Regions from separate parts of the Homo sapiens genome. Here region 2 is linked to region 1. Evidence: promoter capture Hi-C in 16 types of primary human blood cells and fetal thymus (Javierre and others, 2016). All regions are on one chromosome and are shown on one strand. Each heading gives the region's core, a stretch centred on a gene start or on the middle of the fragment in contact. The rest is flanking DNA. Distances are from core to core; before and after follow the strand shown.

Region 1 (7,693 bases), core at 3,687-6,186:
CATCTGGCACAGTTCAATCCAGATTTTACTAGGGACAGAAAGAATAACTGGGTGCCCTAGAAGAAACTAGGTCACAGGGATCAATACAAATTCTACTCAGTGAATGTGGATTACAGTAAACTGAAGAAAGAAGGTCCAGATTTCTAAATAAAATGTTTCACTATAAAGCTGCTTTAGAAAGAAGGTCTTGGCCAGGCACGGTGGCTCACGCCTGTAATCGCAGCACTTTGGGAGGCCAAGGCGGGTGGATCACGAGGTCAGGAGATCGAGATCATCCTGGCTAACACGGTGAAACCCCGTCTCTACTAAAAAAAAAAAAAAAAATTAACCAGGTGTGGTGGCAGGCGCCTGTAGTCCCAGCTACTTGGGAGGCTCAGGCAGGAGAATGGCGTGAACCCGGGAGGCGGAGCTTTCAGTGAGCTGAGATCGTGCCACTGCACTCCAGCCTGGGAGACAGGGCGAGACTCTGTCTCAAAAAAAAAGAAAAAAAGAAAGAAAGAAGGTCTTGCAGAAGCCAATAGTACAATTTTCCACTTAACCAGAAAACATTTCTCCTCTAAATGCACGAAATCATGGTGATATGTTGTGTTGGAGATTAATTACATTGATTAAACTACATTTCTTCATCCTTTAGAATTAAATCCTCAGGCTGGATGTCATGGCGCACGCCTGTAATCCTGGCACTTTGGGAGGCTGAGGTAGCAGGATCACTTGTGTCCAAGAGTTCAAGACCAGCCTGGGCAACATGGGGAGACCCTGCCTCTACAAAAAATACAACAATGAGCCAGGCGTGGTGGTGTGTGCCTGTAATCCCAGCTACTCAGGAGGCTGAGATGGGTGGATCGCTTGAGACCGGAGGTTGAGGATGCGGTGAGCAGAGATTGTGCCACTGCACTCCAACCTGGACAACAGTGAGACCCTGTCTCAAAAAAAAAATTCCAAGTCTCAAACACTGGAGTGTTAAACAAACAAACACGTGGGGTGTGGTAGCTCACACCTGTAATCCCAGCACTTTGGCAGGCGGAGGTGGAAGTATTGCTTGAGCCCTGAAGTCCCAGACCAGCCTGGGCAACATGGTGAGACCTCCTCTCTATTAAAAAAATGAGAAAATGAACTGGGAGCCCAGGAGGCCGAGGTGGCAATGAGCCATGACTGGGCCACTGCACTCCTGCCTGGGTGACACAGTTGAGACCCTGTCTCAAACAAAACAAAACAAAACAAAACCCTTTCCCCACCAAAAACAAACAAAAAACCCAAACTACACGCTCTCATCCAGACCAACCAACCTAGCAGCCAATCCCAGGCAGGTCATGAACAAGCTGCAGAGCAGACAAGTCATGGAAATGTCAGTTCCATCAGCTGCAAACTGAAGCATACCCCACCGAACGGAGATACACAACCAAAAAATGGTCCTTGAAGTAAAAAATGCTACAAAAACGTCATTAACATAAAATGGCTAGTTAAGTAATGAGCACCTATTTTGTCACCATGCTGTAAGCATACTATGAGGAAGACAATTTCCTACAGGCCAGGAACTATACAAAGGTTTCTCTTTTTAAAATGAGGAGCTATAACTTAATCCCTTTTTCCCACAAACTCTCCAATTCCTCAGTATCAAGATGAGTTGTTAAATTCACAACATTTATTCTATACTTTGAGTAATGCTGTACTTGATTTATTTTAGAGATAGGGTCTCACTCTGTACCCAGGCTGGAGCAAAGTGGTGTGATCCTAGTTCACCACAGCGTCAAACTCCTGGGCTCAAGCAATTTTCTCAAGTAGCTGGAACTACTGGCATACACCACCATGCCTGGCTTATTTTTTAATTTTCTGTAGAGATAGGGTCTTGCTATGTTGCCCAGGCTGGTCTTGAACTCCTGGCCTCAAGTGATCCTCCTGCCTTGGTCTCCCAAAGTGCTGGGATTACAGGTGTGAGCCACCGCACCCAGCTCAATGCTGCACTTTAACAACAAAAGTTTATGGCTAGCTGGGGTAGCTAAAACAAACAAACAAATAAAAAATATATATAGTTTCACATAAAAATGTTTCTATATTCAATTACAAGTGTTTGGATACTTCCACAAAAAAAGTGGAAGGAATAAAATAAATAAAAGTAATTTCTACTGTTCATTAAATTACATGACTTCATTGTTGGTGATCTTTATTCAGTTTAAATAATTCAGCTCTGTTGTCTACATTAATGCATGCCTATCTTTTCACTGTAATTAACTACTGGATGCACATATTTGATTAAATGTACAAATGCCAAAGCTAACTCATAAAAGCCACCAAGAAGAAAGCCCTCCTACCAAAAGTCCTGGGTCTCTACTTATATCTAAGGTGTCCTAGTGTAGCCAGGCTGCTAATAAGACAAACAGACCATCTATCATAAAACTGGATTAATTTAAAAATCTTTCCTTAGGTTTTTGTAAGTGAAAAATAAATTATAGACAGGTTGAATTGGTAGAAATACTTCAAGGATTGTTATAAATACAGAAATGAGGTAGGATTTCAATTTTAGATAGTCTCATTCCTTAGTCAACTTTCAAAAGTGCAAGTCATTATGGAGCCAAGATTTGGATACCTGCATATTTGTTTTGCTGAAAGAAAAAAAGGTACTCATAAGACAACAGAGAGAATTTGTAGTAGATATTGTACTACATAAACATAGTCCCCCCACCCCAATAATTTTAGCAACGTCCAATTTTAAGATGCCTGGAAAAAGCGAATTACTGGTGATCACTCTAGAAGCAAAGTATAAAACTTAAATTTTTTTTCATAAAAAGAGTGACACAAGGTAAAAAAAATAAAATCACTGATTCTAATACATAAACTATGCAATAAAAATATCAAGGATTAGCAATGGTCAAGCTACTCAAAATACAATTAACTTTAAAAATGCAGATTAAAATGTATTTTAATAAAATGACGAATATGCATTGAAAAATGACCACAAAGACATAAACCAAAAATGCTGACAGTGATTATATCTGGGTCAAACAATTCCCAGTGATTTTTACTTTAGCTGTATAGTACATTTTCTACAATGACTATATGTTTTTTGGAAAAAAAAAAGAGTAGATAAATTTTTTTTTTTTAACTTTTGTGGCTTCCACTTAGGAATACATAATCCCAAACATCACAGTAAACAACCCTCAAAAACATTAATACTCTAAATATGCTCAAATGGTTTATTTGCCTTGAACATTCCACGTGGATATAAGAAAAAAATATTCTTTTACACCCTGCTAATCTCTGGCAGGAAACCAAGGCTACAGGGAAGCATCTTCTGAGTAAGAATAGCCTTTGAAAGAAACAAACCATCAGAAACACAGTGTGTGTTAAGGATGGGGCAGACAGTACAGGGTCTCTCACTGAGAGAACCATACAGTTTTTTGAAATTTTAAGAAGCTTGTTGGCAAATATTTTTAGACAATCTCCAATCCCTAGAGGCTAACCTTGGACATCATCCTTAGGTTCTTAGATGGACACGCCACACCCAAAGTGGTTGTAATGGGCTACAAAGTGGTTGTAATGAATCCATGAGAAAGCCTGCCTGCAGGCAAGCCCCAGACTTAGATGAATGTAACCTTGCTGGTGGGCGATCATTATTTGAGGAGACAGCTGGAACACGCTAACTCTAGCCTCTTCCCCCTACTAGGTGCCTAACCTGAATCTTTTTTTTTTTTTTTAATCTGTAAAATTAGACTCAAATATTACAGGGTTATCATTAACATCATCGAAGCATTAAACAAATATGAGGTATGATCAGTGAAAACAAGCAGTGGATGGGGAGCTGAGACACTGAGTCTAGTCTCAGGACTAAGATTAGCTGGTGACCTTGGGTGAAATCACTTAACCTGAGCCTCAGTTTCCTCAGGTGTAAAATCAGGATACACCCGTTCAGCAAGGATGCTGTGAGAGCATCCACCTACAACAGTGATGCTCGCAGGCCCGGGGCTGGCACCGTCGCTCTGTGGGCCTCGGCCTCTGGGTCCCCACAAGGCAGGGCTGGGACACCCGCCCGACCTCCTCCCGAACCAGAACCCCGGCTGCCCCCAGCTCCGCGGGTCTGCCCCCGACACATCCCTCCCGAAGGCCACTTGGCTTGGACACAAATCGAAACCGAAAAGCTCATGTGACACTGGAGGCAGGGATGCGGCCTCGCCCGCTCTCAGCCCAGGGAGACGCTGTCTCCACCCAACTCGGCCATCTTGAGAGGCCCGAGCAGACAAAGCGACCCCATTGTTTTGGGTGACGGCAGACGGGGACCCCTTTCCCCTCCCCGCGACCAGGAGCGGGGCGCCCTGGGGGCTCCGGGCCGGGCAGTGGGTGTGGCGAGGGCGAGCCCCGGGCGCCGCGCCGGCCTCTGCGGGGCGTCTGCGGCCCTGGGGACCCGGCCGGCGGGACGTCTGCGGCCGCCGGGCTCTGCCCATCCAGGGGTCATCTGCAGCTGCCGGGCTCCTCCCATCCCGGGGACATCTGCGACCCCGGAGGACCTGGCAGGCCCTGCATTCCGCGAGGCCTGGCTCTGGCGACCCTGCCCTCCGCGGCCCCGCACCTTTGAGCGTGGAGCGCTCCACCAGCACCGTGTGGACCTGCGGGTCCGAAAGGAACTTGCGCATCTGCTCCAGGGCGCTCTTCTCCTCCAGCGCCGCCTCCAGCGCGGCCGGCGCCTCGCCGCCGTCCTCCAGCAGCAGCGGCACCAGCTTGCGCAGGTGCTTCTGCAGCACCGACACGTCCGCCACATTCTGCACGGCCGACACTTCCAATCCGGCCGAGCCGTCCTCGCCGCCGCCGCCCCCGGGCTCCGACATGGTGTCGCGCTCGGGACCTTCCAGGAGCGATGAGAAGGCGGCCGCGACTCAGCGAGACAGCCAGCAAGAGACAGAAACGGCCGCCGGAAGCCGGACCGTCCGCTAGCCCACCGCAGACTGAGGAGAGCGGGAGCCGGCTCCGCCCTAAAGGCAGCCACTGCCAGGTGGCCCCGCCCCGCCCCGCCGGCCGCAGCCGCCGCAGCCACCCGCGCTCGCTCGCGGCCTTAGCGTCACGGCGCCGCGCGTGCGCGGGGGGCGGGCCCGGCGATGTCGCCGCGCGCCCTTCTGGGACTTGTAGTCTCGGCGCTGGTCGGGGCCCGCAGCCTCCGCACTGCGAGTCCTAGGAGATGGGGACTTGGCTCAACGTCCTGGCTCGGCGCCCGGGCTTGGCGAGGTTGGTCAGGGGCTGCGTCTGTCTTCTTCACTGCTGTGGACGCAGCGAATAGCACACAGCCAGAGAAACTTTATAGTGAATCAGTGATGTTATTGGCGAGAGCTAACGTTTAGTGAGCGCTTAGCCTGTGCCCGGCGTTGTTCTAAGCCCCTTAACCTCTCATTAAATGTTCTCTCATTGAATGAATGAATGACTACGTATCAGGTACCAAAATATAGGCACGACAGATGTGTTATTAGATATAGACCGGGAGATTGAGGATACTTTTCAGAGGGGGAGGAGATGAGGGGCGTGCTCAGAGAGTCCCATTGCCAGGCTGGAAACGGACAGCTGGGGAGGGGGCCTTCGGGGCAGTGTAAGGTTAAGCCAGGAATGACACCTTCACTGTACGTAAAGCCAAGCTGTGATGGGATCTGGTTCCTAATGACAAAAATCATTGTCCCCGAGGACGCTGTGAGGACCAAGAGGGAGACCTACTGAGAACAGCTACCTCCAGCAATGGCTCTCCTCCAGCCCCCTAGAGCTGGCACTGTCATTCTGTGGGCCTCAGTATCTGGGTCCGTACAAGGCAGGGGCTGGGTTGCCTGCCCACCAAGTTTCCCCCTAGTTCGGACCCACCACGACCTCCTCCCCTACACCATGACTACATAAGAGCCAGAATCCAGGCTGCCCAGCTGGGTGCGGTGGCTCACACCTGTAATCCTAGCATTTTGAGAGGCTGAGATGGGAGGATTGCTTGAGGCCAGAAGTTCCAAGACCAGCCTGGTCAACCTAGCGAGACCCTATATCTATGTGTATTTAAAAATTAAGAATTTTGTAAAATAATAAAAATAATAGAATCCAGGCTGCCCATCTTTGTAGTTTAGAGATGGTAGGTTCTTCTAAGGGGTAGTAATTGGCCTTTGAAAGTTCACATTCATAACTTCTTTCTTAAGTTGGGTGGAGAGAGGGAAGCCAATGGCGTTTTTTTTTTTTTTGGTTTTTTTGTTTTTTTTAAACATCAAAGTGCACTGTCAGAGTGCCGAGTCCTGATTGGTGGAATGATGATGGTATGATTTGATTCTCCCAAATCATCTTTGAAAAACTGTGAAACATACAATAAGCTTATTCCTTGCCTAATTACCGGTTGCTGGGTCCCAGGGGGTTGCTGGAACACGGAGACTAATCAGATGATTCTTGTCTTTAAGGAGCATGTGGAAGAGGGGACAGATGAATACCCCATCTTCCTGCTCTCCATCAGTCCGCCCTGGTGTGATGTGCCTAAGCAGTTCCGAGTAATCTTCCTGGAAAAAATAAATAGGCAACTGCGATGAGTTTGTGCAAGGATCCTAATGGTAATGAATAATAATAACACACCACTGACAGCGAACGCTGAGTGTTCACTGCGTGCTAGGCACCATGCAGAGGGTTTCCCCTCACATGTACTTTAGGGGTAGAAAGAGGGACAAAGAGGAAAGTCTATTAGGTGCAGATCTGTGAACTCTGAATAGGCCATCCACCATCTGAGACTCAGAAACCTGCAGGGACCTGGCCGATGGGCAGGCTGCATGCTGGCTGCACCATGAGTCAGCACCAGACTGGGAGACGCAGCCACTCAGGGATCCAAGGGACTCAAACATCTGCAACCTGGCCCCAGGCCAAGAGAACAAACTGCAGGCTCCGGATTTGCGGCCCTGTAGGATAGGCTCAAAATGAAACATGTTTGTTATTTCTAAGTGGATGGGAACTGAAAGAACCCGAACAATCAGTGTACAAGGATTCATGAATGGACCAAACATGCTTGCTTTTTGTTCTTGAAAGATGTTTGTTGTATTTAATATATAACGAGAAGAGTGGTCAACGCTGACTGGGTGCTGAGCACTTTAAGTGCATTACCTGGGTGGCTGGCTGGGCTGTGCCAGGGTTGAAGGGTGTGGGGAGCTTCTTTCAAGGTGCCCCTTCTGCCTCCTGGCACAGGACTCTGGCTCCAGCACACCCCAAGCTGACCCTGGTGGGGGTAGGGCCCCTCACCCAAACCTGGCCTCTCCCGTCTCTTGTTCTGCTGCCTCAGCTTTCTCCTGTCTGTGGTAGAGTCTGCTTGGACAGACTCTGGGCAGGGCAGGGGGCAGGGCAAGCTGGAGAGAGAATTCGTTCTAGGTTGATGTGGGATGATAGTGGCTGGTAGGGCGCTTGTATCCTATTGGAAATCCATGATGAGATCCCATTCATTCCCACCCTTCTCTTAACAATGTCTCCTTAAGTCCAAGTCTCAAGTCGGGTGCCCAGTTTCATACCATCCTTCCTCTCCCTCTCACAACCTTCGGGCAGGACCAACCCCCTCAGAGGAACCCCTGCTGCCCCAGCCCTTTCAGGCTCTGTGCCCAGGATCTCCCCTCCACTCCCTGGAAATTCCACATTTGGCCAGGTGTGGTGGTGCACACCCTTGTTCCCAGCTACTCAAAAGGTTGAGGTGGAGGTCGAGGCTGCAGTGAGCTGTGATCTC
Region 2 (7,693 bases), core at 3,592-6,091, 250 kb after region 1:
CCCCGAAGCTTCCACTCACAGCCCTGCAACACCTGGGCTGCCTGCCTCCCTCTGTAGTATCACACACATTTAACTCATCGACCCAAGAGTGAGATCAAGATCTTCACTGCTTGTGCACGCATGAGGGGAGGGCGCCTACAACTCAGATGATCCAAGCACTGGCGCCAAAGGCTCAGAATCCTCTGGACTAGCTCTGCCCAATAGGGATGTCATGTGAGCCACAAGTGCGAACCACGTAGGTGTTAAAAAATTCTTAGTGCCCACATTTCAAAAGTAAAAAGAAAAAGATGACATTGATTTTAGTAATATATTTAATGTAGTCCAAGATATGCTCAAAATATTATCATCGCAACATGCCATCAAAATAAAACTTATTAATGAGATATTTTGCCTTCATCCTTTTTTCCTACTAAATCTTTTTTTTTTTTTTTTTTTTTTAAATTGAGAAGAGGCTCACTCTGTAACCCAGGCTGGAGTGCAGTGGCATGATCATAGCTTACTGAAGCCTCGACCTCCCAGGCTCAGGGTATCCTTCCACCTCAGCCTCCTGGGTAGATGGGACTACAGGTGCCTGCACCATGCCTGGCTAATTTTTAAAAATTTCTACAGAGACAAGTTCTCTCTATGTTGCCCAGACTGGGAAATTTTTTTCTAGAAATGGGGTCTTCCTATGTTGCCCAGGCTGGTCTCAAGGGATCTTCCCACCTCAGCCTCCCAAATTGTTGGGATTATAGGCCTAAGCCACTGTACCCAGCCTTTATACAGAATCATTACATTTCAGTGTATATTTTGCATTTTATAGCCCATCCCAATTCATACTGGCTCAGTAGCCACATGTGGCTGGTAGCTGTGTCTTGGTTGTTATAGGTGTTATGGACTAAACGTTTGTCTCCCCCAAATTCATGTGTTGAATTCCTAACCTTCAACACAAGGATATTCAGAGGTGGGCCTTTGGGATGTAATTAGGTCATGAGGGTGTGGCCCTCATGAATGGGATTAGTGCCCTTATACGAAGAGACAGTGGAGTTTGCTCCTCCTCTGTCTGCTGTCTGCCATGTAGGACACAATGAGAAGGTGGCTATCTACAAACCTGGAAGTGAGCTCGTATCAGACAGGGGATCTACCAGCACCTTGATCTTGGACTCCCCAGACCCTAGAACTCTAAGAAATAAATCTGTTATTTAAGCCACCCATTTAATGGTAGTTTGTTACCACAGCCTGTCTTAGTCCATTTACTGTGGCTTATAACAGAATACCTGAAACTGGGTAATTAATAAAGAAACAAGATTTATTTCTTACAGTCCTGAAGGCTGGGAAGTCCAAGGTTGAGAGGCTGCATCTGGTGAGGGCCTTCATGCTAGCAGGGACTTTCTGCAAAGTCCCAAGGCAGCCCAGGGCATCACAAGATGAGGGGCTGAGTGTGCAAGCTCAGTTCTCTCTCCTTGTTATAGAGCCACAAGTCCTACTCCCAAGAACATCCATTAGCCCATTACTCGCTGAATGGAGTAATCTACTCATGAGGGAAGGGGACATATGACATAATCACCTCTTAAAGGCCCCACCTCCCAATACTGCCACATTGGGGGTTAAATTTCAACATGAGGAAGGAGACAAACATTCAAACCATAGCATAGTGCAAGCCAGGGAAGACAGTAGGTCTAGTATGGCCCGGGATAAGAAGGGAACTGCTAAAACCATGCTTGAGCAGGAGACAGCCAGTGAGACACTAGAACCAGCCTTTGTAGCCACAGCAATGGACCAAGAACACTCAGCATCTTCTCACCTGCTTGTCAAGACATTAGAAAGAAAAGCGGTGCTGCAAGATTATACTTGGGTGAGATCTCAGTGGGTGGGGTGAGATGACAGTGGGTGGGGAGAGATGACGGTGGGTGGGGTGAGATCTCGGTGGGGTGAGATGACAGTGGGTGGGGTGAGATGACGGTGGGTGGGGTGAGATGACAGCGGGTGGGGTGAGATGACAGTGGGTGGGGTGAGATCTCGGGTGAGATGACAGTGGGTGGGGTGGGATGACAGTGGGTGGGGTGAGATGACGGTGGGTGGGGTGAGATGACGGTGGGTGGGGTGAGATGACGGTGGGTGGGGAGAGATGACAGTGGGTGGGGGGAGATGACGGTGGGTGGGGGGAGATGACGGTGGGTGGGGAGAGATGACGGTGGGTGGGATGAGATGACGGTGGGTGGGGAGAGATGACGGTGGGTCCGGAGAGATGACGGTGGGTGGGGTGAGATGACAGTGGGTGGGGTGAGATGACAGTGGGTGGGGAGAGATGACAGTGGGTGGGGTGAGATGACAGTGGGTGGGGAGAGATGACAGTGGGTGGGGTGAGATGACAGCGGGTGGGGTGAGATGACGGTGGGGAGAGATGACAGTGGGTGGGGTGAGATGACAGTGGGTGGGGTGAGATGACAGTGGGTGGGGTGAGATCTCGGGTGAGATGACAGTGGGTTGGGAGAGATGACAGTGGGTGGGGGGAGATGACGGTGGGTGGGGGGAGATGACGGTGGGTGGGGTGAGATCTCGGGTGAGATGACAGTGGGTGGGGTGAGATGACAGTGGGTTGGGAGAGATGACGGTGGGTGGGGAGAGATCTCGGTGGGGTGAGATGACAGTGGGTGGGGAGAGATGACAGTGGGTGGGGGGAGATGACGGTGGGTGGGGTGAGATGACGGTGGGTGGGGTGAGATGACGGTGGGTGGGGTGAGATCTCGGTGGGTGGGGAGAGATGACGGTGGGTGGGGTGAGATGACGGTGGGTGGGGTGAGATGACGGTGGGGAGAGATGACGGTGGGTGGGGTGAGATCTTGGTGGGTGGGGAGAGATGACGGTGGGTGGGGTGAGATGACGGTGGGTGGGGAGAGATGACGGTGGGTGGGGTGAGATGACGGTGGGTGGGGTGAGATGATGGTGGGTGGGGTGAGATGACAGTGGGGTGAGATGACGGTGGGTGGGGTGAGATGACGGTGGGGTGAGATGACGGTGGGTGGGATGAGATGACGGTGGGTGGGGTGAGATGACGGTGGGTCGGGAGAGATGACAGTGGGTGGGGAGAAATGACGGTGGGTGGGGTGAGATCTCGGTGGGTGGGGTGAGATCTTGGTGGGTGGGGAGAGATGACAGTGGGTGGGGTGAGATGACGGCGGGTGGGGTGAGATCTCAGTGGGTGGGGAGAGATGACAGTGGGTGGGGTGAGATGACGGTGGGTGGGGTGAGATGACGGTGGGTGGGGAGAGATGACAGTGGGTGGGGAGAGATGACGGTGGGTGGGATGAGATGACGGTGGGTGGGGAGAGATGACGGTGGGTGGGATGAGATGACGGTGGGTGGGGAGAGATGACGGTGGGTGGGATGAGATGACGGTGGGTGGGGAGAGATGATGGTGGGTGGGGTGAGATCTCGGTGGGTGGGGTGAGATGACAGTGGGTGGGGTGAGATGACAGTGGGTGGGGTGAGATCTCGGTGGGGTGAGATGACAGTGGGTGGGGTGAGATGACGGTGGGTGGGGAGAGATGACGGTGGGTGGGGAGAGATGACGGTGGGTGGGGAGAGATGGTGGGTGGGGGGGAGATGACGGTGGGGGGGGAGAGATGGTGGGTGGGGTGAGATGACGGTGGGTGGGGTGAGATGACGGTGGGTGGGGAGAGATGACGGTGGGTGGGGTGAGATGACGGTGGGTGGGGAGAGATGATGGTGGGTGGGGTGAGATCTCGGTGGGGTGAGATCTCGGTGGGGTGAGATCTCGGTGGGTGGGGTGAGATATCGGTGGGTCGGGTGAGATCTCGCTGGGTGGGGTGAGATCTCGCTGGGTGGGGTGAGATTGCAGTTGGGAAGTGCTGAGTTCTGTCCTCTGTGTTTCCTCTGAGGACTTGACCTGTGAGGGGACAAGGCAGGAGTGGCTGTCCCTTAGCCACAGTGGAAGCTTCCAGTCAACCTCTGTTGAGTGTCTAGACCCAGCCCCAGCTGCTGCTCCCCTGTGGCACTCCTTTGACTGCCACCCCTCCCCACACTGGCTGCCCCCCTTCTCTGGCCGTGCAGCTGGGGCAGCAGCTCTGTGCAGGGGGGTCCTCCTGCCACCCTTCTGCCTGCCTCCCTCCCTTCAGGGAATGAGTGTGGGTCTGTGGCAGGGGGTTCTGCAGGGAACACAGTGCTGGAAAGAGCCTGCCTGGTGTCTGTGTTGTGGTGGAGGGTGGAGGCAACAGGGTAAAGGAGGAATGCTGTTTCCTGTGTCCTGGAGCTACATGAAGCTGGGAAGGGAGGTGACGCCTGGGAGGGGTGAAATTCTCAGTGGAGTGGCTGGGCTGGCCTCTGGGACATTCAAACATAGACCTCCTTGCACTTCGTCATGGGTGACAGCAGATGACCAGATGGGGCCTCCACAGGCAGGCAGGGGCCCGGCTGTTTCCTCATCCCCAGCACTGGATGGCCCGGTGGTTGAGTGAGGGGGGTGGACAGGCGGCCCCGGGGAACATGGTCTGTGGGATTCCAAGTCTCTTGTCTTTCTGAGCCCTCCCCAGAATCACCCTTAATGGTTCATTCATGGCAATGTAGGCGTTTTCTGGCAGGTACCCCCAAACTCTTCCAGTTCCAAAGCTGCTTCCACATTTTTAGGTACTTGTTACAGTAGCACCCCCACTTGGTACCAATTTCCTCTTAATACCATCGCCTGGGAGTTAGGATTTCAACACATAAATGTTGGGGGAACACATTCAGACCACAGCACCCCCTTCCTTTGAGTTACTGGTATCTTTTTGGGTGAGCCATTGAGAGGCAGGTGGAGCTGATCCATGGGGTGCCTGTCCTAGCCTCATGCCTGGTGTCCCTAACCAGGCAGTCACTGGAGGGGGACAAGCCCAGTGAAGGAGGCCAGTGAGGCTGCTACCCAACAGCTGTGTGCCATTGGGTGTATAGTGGGCCTCTCTGAACCTCAGTCTCTTCTTCTGTACAAGAAGGGTAGTGAATCTGGCCTCACAGTGTGGTTTTAAGGAGTGAGTGGGCTCCCAGCATTCTCACAGGCAGTGTGCCCTGGCTCCTAGTGAGGTGAAGACTAAGTGGGCTTGAGGCCCTCCCTTTGGCCAGAGCAGCTGTGCTCCTGCCTCTTGGTGTTTGGGTTCCCCTGAGATGTTTGTTGGAGAGGAGTCTTCCAGACCTCAGCTCATCTCTGAGCCTACTCCCTCTCCAAACACCTCCCATGGAGGAACGGATGCTGATTGGATTGGTGGAAGCTGAGTCACTGTTTGGGCTGCGTTTAGCAGTAGGCGTGGCCAGCAGGTGTGGTCGGTGGGCACAGTCACTGCATAAAAGGCCCCACCTCCCCACTTCTCGCTTCCTGGATCCCTGTGCTGACCAACAGGAAGAGGGACAGGTCCCGTGTGCCGGCCTGGGCTATAGGCAGGGCCTAGGTGACCTGGCTGGTCCACCTAGGATATATCTTGGGCTGATGTATCCTTCATTTCCTTCTCGCTGAAGCCAGGACCTCTCTCCTGCAGCCTCAGCTGGTCTAGCAAAGGTTCTGGATTGGTCGTGGTGGCTGGTGTTGGCCAGTTGGGGCCAATGTGAGATTATGGGGTCAGGCAGACCTCATTGCATTTAAGGCAGAACTCAGCTGTGAGCTGTGTGTTGGTGAGGAGACCGTTTGGTCACAGAGGCTTTTTTTTTTAACCTCCATATACCCTTTATATGTGAGCACTGTGGCCTATGGTGCCTGAGAACCCAAGACACCAAGCTTTTGGAACCTAAGTGTAGGGCACTGCTAGGTGGCACTAGCTTGGCCTCCTCCGATGAAGTCCTCCTCCTCTTTCTGTTTGGCACAGCATCTCCAGCCAGGGAGCGAGCTGTTTTGGGGGGCCCTTTGCCTCCACCGATGCCCCCACCACATGTTCTCAGCTCCTCTCCGACCTCAGTTCTTCCCTTTACCTACACTGGCCCCTGTGGAGCTCCTACGTGCGTGCCAGCAATGCCCAAATACCTCTCCCACCCACCTCCGGCCGTCTACTCGACGTGGCTAATGATGTTGAAAATGCCCCAAAACTGCAGTCCTCGCCTTCTGTCCCTCCCCCATCCCCCACCCCTGCCCTGTTTCCCTGCATCCTCCTCATCTGAGAATGAAGGCAACGGAGGCAGCGTGGGGCTGGTGTCCAACACAGCTGCCCAGGCTTGCCCTGCTGCATCTGGGCGGTGAAAGGAGGCCCCTCCAGATAGGACCCTTCCCCAAACATTTGCGCAGCTGCAGGGTGGCAGAAGCAGCAGACAGACACCCTGGGGCAGGCTGGGATCCAGGGCGGCGGGGCTGTGTCCCAGTGGGGATTATTTTCCCATGTGTTTAAAAGTTGAACCAGCCGTCTAGACCGTGCTCCTCAGCACTGAATGAGAGGGCCTGATTTGGGGTGGCTTTCTTTCTGCCATCTGGACGTCAGCCAGTGGCTCCTCTAAGGTACTTAGGCTTTCAAACGTGTCCTGGTCCAAGTCGCTAAACTACGTCACGCTCTGATTCTTCACTCCTTTACTTGAACGCCTCTTGGTTCCCCTGCCCTCAAGACCTTTTAAAAGTGCAGTCTGACCATGCTGCCCCTTATGGACAGTAGTGCACTACGTGTAAATGTTTAACGACTGCTCTGGATAAAAAGCCCCGATTGGCAGTGTTTGCCAATTTCCATGGTGTAAATCTGCCTGTCATGGCCAATTTCAAACTACCAATCTGAAGTCACTGACTATGCCGTGGGGAAGAGATCAATAGCACATCGTCACACAGGCTCTACTACACAGACGCACCACACAGAAATAACCTCAACGGCAGAGAAAACAATAAAGTATAGTAAAATGTTAGAAAGTTTTGAGTATTTATTACCTGTTTTTGAATATAATTTAATCTTTAATAATGGCTGTGCTTAACAACTGATCTGCAAAATTCCTGAAAATGTAATAGTCTGCTTGTGAGCCGGCACAAGCACACCCTGCTACAGGGTCAGACCCAGACTCCTGGGACAAAGCCTAAACAGGTGGCCCGCTGCTGTCCAGACTCACCCTCCTCCACAAGCCACGCCCCATGCCAGCTCCCTGGGTCCACTTGTGGGGCCCAGATGGACTCGCTGGTCTTTGCCCCTTCCACCCTCTGTCTGAGCCTCCCTCCCTTCATCCTTCCCTTTCTCTTTCTCACCCTCTCTTTACCTCTGAGTATGTATGGAGTCCACTGCTATGTGGCAGGGCTTTGCAAAGCCGGGGGATGCAAATGTGGCCTCCGCCCTCTGGAGCTGGGGTCCTCTCAGAGCCGGGTCTCCAGAACCATATGAAACTTCCAGATTTGGGTGAATAGGGAAGACTCCTTGGCTAGAGCTGTGAGGCCCTTTCTCAGCTGCTAACCCTACAGCAGCCCCCAGATAGGGCCCAGGACCCCCTCCGTCACCTGGACAATACCCTGTGTGTTTGCCTGCTCTCTGAGCCCACCCTGGGGCATGCATTTCCAACAGCTCAGAGGCGGAGCTCCTGGGCATATTCCCTTCCCAGATGGCCTGCATGACGACTTGGGGAGGTCCAGGACGGCTGTCCTTGGTGATCAGGAGCATGTGAGCACTGGTGGGGATGAGGGAGCCCAGAGGGTCCTACTACACACCCTGCACTGTAATAGTCTGCTTGTGAGCCGGCACAAGCACACCCTGCTACAGGGTCAGACCCAAACTCC

Evidence for each region. Contacts are between HindIII fragments. The CHiCAGO score rates a contact against its expected background, and 5 or more counts as called.
Region 2: a fragment that was not itself captured here is called in contact with the fragment with the promoter of DYNC1H1 in region 1 in 14 of 17 cell types (total CD8 T cells, total B cells, naive CD8 T cells and 11 more); the score reaches 9.0 in total CD8 T cells.

The regions. Positions count from the first base shown.
Region 1 is chr14:101,961,816-101,969,508 of GRCh38, reverse strand. It overlaps DYNC1H1 (dynein cytoplasmic 1 heavy chain 1), which reads right to left and starts at 4,936. Exons shown (of 78, transcript NM_001376.5): 1 at 4,562-4,936. The coding sequence starts at 4,817. RefSeq lists silencers at 4,244-4,453, 4,944-5,103 and enhancers at 3,979-4,588, 4,589-5,199, 5,244-5,383. The HindIII fragment of the contact is 2,903 bases long and covers 3,414-6,316 here.
Region 2 is chr14:101,707,903-101,715,595 of GRCh38, reverse strand. The region is part of intron 1 of LINC02320 (long intergenic non-protein coding RNA 2320); the gene reads left to right. Among named protein-coding and RNA genes, the nearest start is that of LINC00239, 19 kb to the left of the region's middle. RefSeq lists an enhancer at 7,137-7,693. The HindIII fragment of the contact is 1,803 bases long and covers 3,940-5,742 here.